Regions from separate parts of the Homo sapiens genome. Here region 2 is linked to region 1. The links are contacts of gene promoters, found by promoter capture Hi-C in blood cells and fetal thymus (Javierre and others, 2016). All regions are on one chromosome and are shown on one strand. The core of a region is centred on a gene start or on the middle of the fragment in contact, and the rest is flanking DNA. Distances in the headings are between cores, read along the strand shown. Region 1 holds the start of ZNF639 (zinc finger protein 639). Region 2 has its middle 63 kb from the start of LINC00501.

Region 1 (5,811 bases), core at 2,708-5,207:
AAACTCCTGACCTCAGGTGATCCACCCACCTGGGCCTCCCAAAGTGCTGGGATTACAGGCGTGAGTCACCTTGCCTGGCCCAAATTATAAACTTTAAACTGTTACAGCCCTTATAGATTATTTATTTAAGAAATAAAAGATCGAGACCAGCCTGGCCAATATGGTGAAATCCCGTCTCTGCTAAAAATACAAAAATCAGCCGGGTGTGATGGTGCGCACCTGCAATCCCAGTTACTCAAGAGGCTGAGGCAGGAGAATGGCTTGAACCTGGGAGGCGGAGGGCTACAGTGAGCTGACATCGTGCCACTGCACTCCAGCCTGGGCAACAGAGCAAGACTCTCTCTCAAAAACAAAAAATCAAAACAAAACAAAAAAAGAAAAAAGTAAAAGTGATAATAATAATTTACTGACCACCAATTATGTACCAGGCTGTGAACATACTTTATCTCATTTAATCCTATGTAATCGTATGAGATGCAAAATTCACATCACCCTCTCAAAATTATAGTTCCTGTTATTGAGGAAACTGAGGCACAGTAAAGTCAAAGCTAGATACTCAGTAAATGCTGGGGTTGGGATTTGAATAAAGGTTTACCCAACTTTATTTATTAATCTATTTATTTATTTGAAACGGAGTCTTGCTCTGTCACCCAGGCTGGAGTGCAGTGGCACGATCTTGGCTCATTGCAACCTCTGCCTCCCCAGCTCAAGCGATTCTCCTGCTTCAGCCTCCTGAGTGGCCGGGATTACGGGCGCCCGCCAGCAGGAGGCTGGGATTACAGGTACCCGCCAGCACACCCAGCTAATTTTTGTATTTTTAGTAGAGACGGGGGTTTACTATGTTAGCCAGGCTGGTCTTGAACTCCTGACCTCAAGTGATCCGCCCACCTCAGCCTCCCAAAGTGCTGGGATTACAGGCACGAGGCACCGCGCCCGGCCTATAATGCTCTTAACACCAAGGTGATACACATGACAGGTGTTCTAGCTGAGGTGCACATACTATTTTTGCTGCTTCACTAAGTTCTGGGTATATCAGCACTGAAGTGATATAATACAGCAGGGAATGAGATAGTGCTTTTTCAGTTTATTTTATTTTTACTTTTTTTTCGGACAGAGTCTCGCTCTTTCGCCCAGGCTGGAGTGCAGTGGCGCTATCTTGGCTCACTGCAAGCTCCGCCTCCCGGGTTCATGCCATTCTCCTGCCTCAGCCTCCCAAGTAGCTGGGACAACAGGCGCCCGGCTAATTTTTTGTATTTTTAGTACAGACGGGGTTTCACCGTGTTAGCCAGGATGTTCTCGATCTCCTGACCTCGTGATCTGCCCGCCTCGGCCTCCCAAGGTGCTGGGATTACAGGCGTGAGCCACCGCGCCCGGCCTTTTCAGTTTATTAAGCATTTTCCTAACCCTTATTCTATTTCATCTTCAAAATGGTCCTGTGCGGTACATGGAGGAGTTACTATCAAACCCATTTACATTTTTACTGATGTGGAAACAGCCTTAGTGAAAGTTAAGTCAACTAATAAGTGGGAGAACCAGAGATGAAAATGCATGCACATCTTGCTTCCAGTTCTTAGCTACCAGTTGGGAGAAGGGGAACAGAATAGCCTAAAGAAACAGACAACCATGAAATGTACAGAAATGATACCAATATATAAAATACCTCACCTCGCCGGGTGCAGTGGTTCACGCCTGTAATCCCAGCACTTTGGGAGGCCGAGGCGAACAGATCACCTGAGGTCGGGAATTCAAGACTAGCCTGACCAACATGGGGAAACCCCGTCTCGACTGAAAATACAAAATTAGCCGGGCGTGGTGGCACATGCCTGTAATCTGAGCTACTCGGGAGGCTGAGGCATGAGAATCGCTTGAATCCGGGAGGCGGAGGTTGTGGTGACCCGAGATCACATCATTGTCCTCCAGCCTGGGTAACAGGAGTGAAACTCTGTCTAAAAAAGAAAGAAAGAAAGAAAAAAGAATAAAATCAAACGCCTCACCTAACAATGTAAACAATCATTCCTTGAGTAACCATCTCAATTCACTGCATTCAAAAATCAAAAAGAGAAGAGCTATTACGATTCATATAGCCCAAAGCTTCACACTTCATGTTCTAAATACTCTAAAAGTATCAGGGAGAACACTGAAAACACTCAGCCGAACATGTTAAGTAGTCTCTTGTTATTTCAGAATGCATCTCAAGTTCTTTGCAACTTGAAGAATAAAAGTAAGAAAAGGAAACCAAGCGTGGTATTAAAATCAACGTTGCAAGCTGGCCTGGATTCAGGCTGTTAGGTGAGAGGAGGAGGCACACGGATCAGGAAGGGTCTGACTCCTACTTAGGGCCGAACGATAACCAAATGTCTATCGGACTTCCTTTCAGCACAATGGTGATGCCTACTCAAGACCAAAAATGCTAACCATCCTTCATTTTAGCAATCATTTTTATGTGCCTTTTGTGTGCATAACAGCCTTGAAAAAACTTAGCTTTCTACTCAAGGATGTCATAAACATTTGCTCACTAGTCTTCTTAGCAGGAAGATTCTGAATCACAAGCAACCTATCACAGTCCCCCCTCCCTCTGAAATACAAACGACATATGTAACACGTGTCACTGCAGAAAAATCAGAAAAATGTTTAAAAATTTTTTATATCACCTAGAAACCAACATCTTTCCACCTGTCATTTTTTTCAACCAACAAGAAAGTCTATGCACAAAATAGAATACATACAACAGGCAGTCAGCAATCATCAAATAGATAAACGTTTCAAAAGGCCTTTCATGCAATGTATATTCTTCCTAATTGCTGTAAGACGTCTTTACAGTAAATAACTCCATTTTTAACGAGTTTAAAAAGAGTTAAGCTTTCTTTTTCGTTCTCATTAAAATAAGCATATGCTTTAAATTGTAAAAGAATTGAAACAAAAACATGTTGCAGGAGAGCCTGAACTAGAATCCACTACATGTCCAACGTGGAGGCAGTCTTTACTGCAATATCACACGGTCACTAAATACTTGATTCGCTATTTTTCAGTCCGGCATAAATCTTTCTCTTCGAAAAAAACAAAAAAGGCATAAACTGCTTCAAATGATTCGTTTCCCTAGACAGTACTTAAAGACAAAACCAAAAAAGGGGGTTTCTAAGCACCGTCACACGAGTGAGGCGACTCTCAGGCTGGAGGCTTTGGGCGCCAGCATCGACGCCTGCTCTCCGCGGCTACAACTCGTTGCGCGAGCCCGGGGATTCGCCGCCGGAGGTCACGAAGCCGCCGGGCAGGGCCGCAGCGCCAGCGAGGACCCAGGATCGTCCCGAGCCCGGACGCAGCCAGACAAATGCCCGTCGGAGGCGCAGGGCAGAAGTCCCTGGGACTTAGCCGCCTCCACCCCGGCGCCACGCACCAGCTTCGCCCGGGCCCAGAAGCCGGCGCCAAGGAGACTTCCAAGCCCCGACACCAAAGGTTCCGTAAAGACAACGGCAGCAGGGGGCCGAGGGGAGCCCGGCCAAGGCGTCCTGCGCAGGGGGTGGAACTGCCTTCGGGATGGGGGAGGGGAACGCCATCCCGCCATATAACGAAGGCAGAGTTTCCGTATAAAGGGAGCTCCGGTCTCTCCCGCCCTCTCCCGTTAGAAGATGCGCCCGCACGCCCGCGTCCCCTGGAGCAGTCCAGCGCCCGACCCACCCGCTCCTCCCTCACACTCACCAGTCAGTCCCCCGAGGCCCTCCCGGCCGGCCCACGCAGAGGCGGCGGCGGCCGAGAGCGCAGGCGGAGGGGCCGCGCGGTCCTTCCCGCGGACGCACGGCGGCGGGCAGCGCTGCTCCGGCCCTAGCGCTCCCGGACGCTGTGCTGGGCCGACCCCTCTCCCTCCCCGCGCGCCCCACGCCCTGAGCGCCAGGCCCCTGGCCTAGGCTCCGCGGCCGCACTGCCCTGGCCGCCACGCTCCGCGCCTGCGCCGCGCACCTCAGGGGCCCGCCGAGAGGGCGGGGAGGTGACGAGGTGAGGTGGGGGCAGGGAGCGGGCTGCGCGAACGCACCGCACACGCGGCCTGGGAGGGACCACCGGCCCGCAGCCCCGGGGGAGGCCCAGCGGCCCGCGCCCCCTGCCGGAGGCCTTGCGCCGCCGCAGTCTCCTTCTGGGCGGGGAAGAGCCCCTCCCGAGCCCCGAGGGCGATCCCACCCTCTAGGATTACTCCACGCCAGGCGGCCAGCGAATTTATCCCGCCCGCCTCCACCGCCCCTTCAAGCCCTGGGGAACTGGGAGAAACGTGGCGCGCAGCGGCACCTTTCCCACGCTGCTCCTCAAGGGAAAGGACGCGAGTGGTCTTGCCCAGGTTAGGCAAGGCAGATGGCATCTCAGACCCCGAAGTGTGCCAGCCGCCTGTTGGGGACAGAGAGGCCGAGGACCTCGTCACGGTTTTACTGAGGCCACACCAGAGAACCACCTAGGGCTAGGATGCTGCCCTCAGGGCAAGAGGGTGAAACCTGAAGACTGCGAGTCGTTGTTGAGTTTCACCCGATTCCTTGGCTCGAGAAATAGTGGAATGAATGAGGAGTTAAGGGGGACTGGACTCGACGATTTAAGTCCTTTCTCGACTTTGACTTTCTTTGAGCAGCTGTAGAAATGATTAAATTACACGAGCATAAATAAATTTGTGAACATGGTTCCATAAATGATCTCTGTGCAAGTGTGGTGATATGTTTAATTCAGTCCTTTTGACAATGAGTTGAGGTTTTTAGTCACATTTTACAAAATGGAAAAGTAAATGTGTGAGAAGCTAAAGACTGGGTCTTAATTCATTTTGGTAGCCTAAACCCCTGAGGTTCAAACGGTTAAGAGGATGACTGAGAGCCATGTGGATTATCAGGTACCCAAGGTCACTCGGATAGTTAGGGCTGCAATGATGTCTCTTTGTTCACGTCCACTGCTTTTTCTGACAACCACATGCCAATCAACCAATCAATCGCTGGAAAGTAATAATCACAGACTTTACTCTGATCCCTTCACCATCCCCCAGGAGATAAAGCTATATTTGAAAGAGACACTACTTGTTTGTGAGGCTCAGTTTTTATGACCTCCTAAGTTTTATGTGCGTACTCAGCTCAAATAAATGCTCACGAATGCTAGTATGGCCCGAATTAAAGTTCGAAGAAATGTAGAGACATTTTTAAATCCTAGAATAGTTAGTATCTAGCACAGAACCGGGAATCGGTGGAAACCACAAGGGGGTGTCATGCCACCATCTTACCATTTTGCCTTACCACATAGCCTTGTGTCCAACAAAATCTTTATATTTCAAAATGAAGTTTTACTCCAAAACATTTTGTAGTGAAAGTAAACGCACACTCTCCCCAGCATCCCACGTATTGTTTGCACTTAGAGGAGCTTGACTTTGTTTAGATGTTGTTTAACATAGTCACAAATTGCAAGCAATTTCAAGTTCTTGATTAGCTGGAGTGTTTTTCAGTTTCATTTTTGGGTCCCTCTTTTCCTCATCTCCCGCTCCAAGGGAGGGTGATAGCTGGGATAAAACCCTAAAATCTCAAGAGTGCTAAATTGTAGAGTTTGTTAAATACTATTATAAATTTGATTCAGGGCTATTAAAACATCGTTCTTCCAACTTTTTCACACACTTGTAGAATAGCTTAATTTCTCCTTCCTTTCCTTCCTTCCTTTTCTTTTTTTTCTTTTTTCTTTCTCACGGTCTCACTCTGTCGCCCAGGCTCCAGTACAGAGATGGGATATCGGCTCACTGCAATCTCCACCTCCTAAATTCAAGCAATTCTCGTGCCCCACCCTTCAGATTAGCTGAGATTACAG
Region 2 (5,988 bases), core at 474-2,973, 2.0 Mb after region 1:
TGCCCTCCCCACTAGGGAAAGGCCTGGCTCTGAGCAGCCGCCCCTCCCCGAGGCCGCCAAGCTCCCAGTTCAGGCCCTTTCTTGGGCAGCCGGAGTGCTCCTCTCTTAGATAATGCCAGGTACTCTGGAAAGTAGCCGTGTAATAATACACAAACCCCTGATGATGTCAGCGTGTTATTGACTTTCCAAGTCTGAATGACTGAGCAGAGGAGCGGGGGTGGGGCGCAATCCATCCGGCAGCGCGGAGACCGGCCAAGCGAAAATGGGCTCGCCAGCCTGGCGGGGGAGGGGCGGCTCGCAACAGCGGCGGCTGCTTCGAGCTCCGGCTCTGCCGCCGCGGCGTCGGGGTCGCTGCCGCCCAGCCCAGGCGGGGCTCGGGTTCCCGCTCCTCTGATGTTTACGTTTGGTCAAAAACTCCTCAGACAGAAATAACTAATGCCTCCCCCCGGAAGCTTTTACCACGTGGCAGAGTGGGGTCACAAAGGGGGGAGCAGTGGCACGAAGGGGATGGGGAGGAAGACCTCCCTGTTCCCTCCCCCACCCTGCAGGGGCCTTCCTCTTAGGCTGCAGAGCCGAGGGTCGCTCTCCGTGGTGGAGTTCCCTCTGCAGAAGACCCCTGGAAAATTGCACTTCAGCAGTGGTGACATTTTATAGGCCATGATTTGCTGCATTTATGGCTCTGGCAGTGCAGGTGCGGAGTCGTAGGCTCCCGTTCTCACCCTGCAAATTGCTCACAGTGCAATCTGTCATCTTCAAGGCTAGGTGTGAACCGGGCAGGGTTGCCCTTAAAACGGAATTGCAGTTAAAGGCCGGGATCTGGAAGGAAGCGCTCTACCCCGGGGCGTGGCCTTTCCCACCGGCTCTGGACCTTTCCTTCAAGCCCCGCCATGCGCGCCCACCGACTTGGCTGTCGCAGCCTGGGGGCACTGGGCGCCCTGGGCTCTGCCTGCCTGCAGAGCTCTCATTCTTTCCGTTCCAGGCCTGTGGAATCCTCCAGTGAACAAGGCCTCATGCTGGCCTCTGCCCCACCCCACTGCGAGGAGCCGCTCCTCCTCCGAGGCCTATGGTTTTTCTCCCCGCGGAGTGGGCTTGGTGGGAGCACCGCGTGGCGCAAACAGCACGGGGGGACTTTGGAATCGCCTGGACTTGAGCCCTGCCCCACCACGTGTTCGCTGTGTGAATGTGGACAGGGTGGTTACCCTCTCTACAGCCCGCGTCTTAAAATGGGAGTAGTAACAACCCCCTCAACAGTTGTTCTGAGGATTAAGTGAAATTCAGATTTCATAGGAGACCTTTTTCAATAGTCAAGTCTCTCGCCTTTATGAGTCAAGTTCCACTGGGGCCAGAGGCCCTGTGGTTGTTTCTGAAAACAAGGTCAGCAGAAGTGCTAGACCCATTGTTTCCTCAACTCAGCCCTTCCCCCTACACTCCTGGCAAAGTGGAGCCCGCAGCCTCTTCCGACCCACTTCCACCTTCACCCACACCCACAGGCTTACAGGGCAGAGCTGTTTTGTTGACGGGGCGGGGGTGGGGGTGGGGACGTGGAAACTGTACCTCTGACCTAAGCTGGACCATTCACGGCCCTTCTCAAATTTCCCTCCCCCACCTTGCCACAGGGGATTGGTCCCAGCGGGAAGAGCTGACATATTTGAATCCAATCAAAAGCCTTCTTGGGAAATTTTGAAACTGGAAGTGAAAAAGTCAGTTTCTCCCCAGGGCTAAAACTGCAAGATATTATAACATACATGACCATGTTTCCCATGGTCAGGAGAGGAGAGGCAAGGCCAATCTGAAGGCAGAAACAGAGATAAAGATCGAGCAGAAAACAAAGATAGAGCCTCAGCCACAGCCAGACAGGCTGGGAGAGAGCGCTGAGGCCAACAGGAGTCTAATGTTATTGGCAGCATCGGTTCCTGTGTCCCTGGTACAGCCCTGCCTGCCCCCGATTCCTTGCGACAGCCCATTATTTTTTGCCACAAATTCTTATTGTTTAACCTAGTTTGTGTTTTTGTTGCTTCTAATCCAAAAATCCCATGGCATTTACTAGTTTAACTTACACAGTATGTCAGTTGAGTTCAAGAGCTCCCCAGCCCCATTATAACCCCCCGAGAAGTCTTCTATCCTCCGCAGCATATGTCAGTGCCCCATAACAAGGTGCTCAATAAATGCTCTTCAGATTGCACTGAGCAAGTTGTGAGTGGACGGGAAGTGCCCTGGTGGCTGTTGAAACTGGAGGCTTCAACTGGTTAATTTAAAGGGGAAGCATCGCCAATTGCCACAGACTTCTAGAAGCCCATTTATTGTACCCTAGTGGTAATTAGGGCTTATTCAAGTGAATAGAAAGAGAAAAGAGAAGAAACTTTATCCCCTCTAAATTGCATTTAATAAAAATCTTGGAGAAAATGAGTGAATTGTCAGGCTTAATAATTTCCCCTGGGTCTTTGTTGGAGGGAGGCTGAGGAAATGTACAGTATTCTACATTTATAGGACAGCAGATCTGCATTTTAACAGAGTAAAATGCAGTCGTGGCTTACCCTCCTTTTTTCCCCCTTCATTTGTTTCCAAAGGGTTTTTTTCCAGCTCATGAGTCACTTCCAGTCAGATTCAAAGACAAAAGCCGGCTAATTGTGTGTCCATGAGTCAGGGTCCCACCCTGCCTTATCTGAACACCCTTTCTAGCTCTGAGAAGACAGAGCAATTTTCAGCCTATAAGGCATTGAGTGGAACCTGTTACACACCGCTTCTGGGTCAGGCTCTTTAGGGAGCAGTCCAGGCCCTTCCATTTCCTTCTGGCATCTGGCAGCTGATAGCACCTTGGGGTGTTTCCTTGCCAGTGTTATTTTCAGTCAGGAACTGTGCAGTCTACCCTGTTCCTAAGGCACCCTGTTGAGCCCAGAGAGATAAAGGTGAATTTAAAAGGAGGTCTAAACCCTCTAGCAATTTATCATATAATGAAGGAGAAAGGCAGAAAAGAATCACTGTTAGACAAGCTTTGAGGGTTATGGAAGAGTAAGTGCTAAGACTAATGATTTCTCAGTCTGCACCCCTTGCTGTCTCTCAGCAGCATTTTATCTGGTTGACTTTCCAACTACTTGAAACATTTTATTTCCAGACCTCCCTGATGTTACTTTGTTTTCCAAGCAGTGTCTATTTCCCACCCCCACTTTTTCTCTTATCCTTATGCCTTACATTCTCCCTCTTTCTAGATATCTCACTTCCAGATAATGGTACCACATCCAGCTGGCTGCTCATGCCCCAGAGACAATTCCTGATTTTTTTTTTTTTCTTTTTGAGACAGAATCTCGCTCAGTTGCCCAGGCTGGAGTGCAGTGGCATGATCTTGGTTCAATGTAGCCTCCGCCTCCTGGGTTCAAGGATTCTAATGCCTCAGCCTCCTCAGTAGCTGGGATTACAGGCGTCCACCACCACATCCAGCTCATTTTTGTATTTTTAGTAAAGATGGGGTGTCACCAGGTTGGCTAGGCTAGTCTCAAACTCTTGACCTCAGGTGATCTGCCCACCTCGGCCTCCCAAAGTGCTGGGATTACAGGCTTGAGCCACCATGCCCAGCCCTGATTTTTTCTTTTCTGTCATTCACTACACCCAATCCATCAGCTGGTTTCCCTCCAAAATTGTCTGTATGCATGCCCTTCTCCATCTATACTGCCACCATGCAACAAAGACATCTGCATCTCTCCTCTGCTCAGGGGCAGTAACCTCTGCCAAAATCCCACTACACTGAGAGCACTACTCAAACTCCTTGTCTAGGCCTCCTATGCCTTAGGTCATTTCCTCCTTTTATTCATTCCCTCCACCTTCTCCTAGCTCAGGCCACCCCTGCCACATGAGACCCTTTTCTTTCACCACTTTACTTCTTCCTATCTTAAGGCCTCTGCTCTTAGAGTTGGTTCCCTCTGCCTGGAAGACTCTCTGGCCCTTCCTAAGCTGGCTCCTCTATATCTGTCTTCTCTATATCTGTCTTAGATCGTTCAGGCTGCTATAACAAAAAATACCATTGATACAATTTGGATGTTTGTCTCCTCCAACTCTCATGTTGAATTGTAATCCACCAGTGTTGGAGGCGGGGCCTGATGGGAGGTGTTTGGGGCCGATCACTCATGAATTTCTTGGTGCTATTCTCACAATAATAAGTTCTCATGAGACCTGGTTGTTTAAAAGTGTGTGGCACCTCCCTGCACTCTCTCTTGCTCCTGCTCTCACCATGTGACGTGCCTGCTCCCCTTCACCTTCCTCCATGATTGTAGGCTTCCTGAGGCCTCCCCAGAAGCAGATGCCAGCACCACATATCCTGTACTGTCTCAAAACGATGCCCCAATTAAACCTCTTTTCTATATAATTTACCCAGCCTCAGGTATTTCTTTATAGCAATGCAAAAACAGCCTGACACAACCATAGACAGGGTGGCTTAAATAACACATTTATTTCTCACAGTTCTAGAGGCTAGGAAGTCCAAGGTCACAGGGCTGGCAAATTCAGTTCCCGGTGAGAACCTTCTTCTTGGTTTGCAGGTGAACACCTTCTTGCTATATCCTCACGTAGTAGAGAGAGAAATCATCTTTCTCATGTCTCTTATTTATTTATTTTTGAGACGGAGTCTCACTCTATTGCCCAGGATGGAGCGCAATGCAGTGATCTCGGCTCGCTACAACCTCCACCTCCAGGATTCAAGTGATTCTCCTGCCTCAGCCTCCTGAGTAGCTGGGATTACAGGCACCTGCCACCACACCTGGCTAATTTTTGTATTTTTAGTAGAGATGGGGTTCACCATGTTGGCCAGGCTGGTCTCAAACTCCTGACCTCGTGATCCACCCATCTCAGCCTTACAAAGTGCTGGGATTACAGGCATAGGCATGAGCCAACACACCAGGCCTCATGTCTCTTCTTTTTTTTTTTGAAACGGAGTCTTGCTGTGTCACCAGGTTGGAGTGCAGTGGCGTGATCTCAGCTCACTGCAACCTCTACCTCCCGGGTTCAAGCGATTCTCCTGCCTCAGCCTCCAAGTAGCTGGGTCTACAGGCACCGCCACCACGCCCAGCTAATTTTTGTATTTTTAGTGGAGACGGGGTTTCACCGTGTTAGCCAGACTGGTCTCGATCTCTTGACCTCATGATCTGCCCACCTCGGCCTCCCAAAGTGCTGAGATTACAGGCATGAGCCACCACACCCGGCCATGTCTGTTCTTATAAAGGCACTAATCCTATTCATGAGACTGCCACCCTCATGATCTGATCACCTCCCAAAGACCCCACCTCCAAATACCATCACGTTGGGGATTAGGGCTTCAACACAGGAATCTGGCGGGGACACAAACGTTCATTCCATGGCAGTATCCTTCAGGTTTCAGTTCAGTGATCAACCCCCTAGAGAGGTCTTCCATGACCACTACATGTTACATTCTATCACACCACTCAGTTTATGGCCAGCACACACTCACCATGATCTGTAGTAATCAGTTATTTTATTTATTTATTTCTGTCTTCTCTGTCTTCCCATTGGAACATAATCTCCAGGAACGCAGATATCGTATCAGGCTTGCTCCTTGTTCATTAATGAGTTCATTGACTAGAGTCTATTTCATAATAGGTACACAGTAAGTCCTTTTTGATTAATCAGTGCAGATAGTAGCGAAAGGTCAGTACAGATATGCCTAAGTTAACTCCTCAAGAAAAAGTGGAAGTTCACCAGGTGAATGAGGAGAAACGCATCTCAGAAAGGCACAAAGGTGTGTGTTCAGGGAAGTCTCTCTTGACCCCCCTGTCCCTCCAGCTACTGCCTCATTACTCTGCTCCCTCTGTAGCTAAGCAATGCTCTGAAGGGTTATCTAGGCTCACTGTGTTCATTCCTCTTCTCCCTTTTTCTTCTACTTGTTGCCAATCAGGCATTTTCCCCCAACCACTCGGCCAAAACTGCTCTTCTTAAGGTTAATAATAACCTCTGGCTAGGCACAGTGGGTCACACCTGCAATCC

The links. Contacts are between HindIII fragments. The CHiCAGO score rates a contact against its expected background, and 5 or more counts as called.
Region 2: a contact is called between a fragment that was not itself captured here and the fragment with the promoter of ZNF639 in region 1, in 1 of 17 cell types (fetal thymus). The highest score is 7.3, in fetal thymus.

The regions. Positions count from the first base shown.
Region 1 is chr3:179,321,177-179,326,987 of GRCh38, reverse strand. ZNF639 (zinc finger protein 639) reads right to left here and starts at 3,957. Exons shown (of 6, transcript NM_001303426.2): 1 at 3,697-3,957. RefSeq lists enhancers at 1,857-1,956, 2,998-3,047 and silencers at 3,618-3,757, 3,788-4,227. The HindIII fragment of the contact is 4,241 bases long and covers 2,862-5,811 here.
Region 2 is chr3:177,354,265-177,360,252 of GRCh38, reverse strand. No RefSeq gene overlaps it. Among named protein-coding and RNA genes, the nearest start is that of LINC00501, 63 kb to the right of the region's middle. RefSeq lists enhancers at 78-372, 1-724, 1,398-1,692, 1,579-1,818, 1,939-2,138. The HindIII fragment of the contact is 2,538 bases long and covers 455-2,992 here.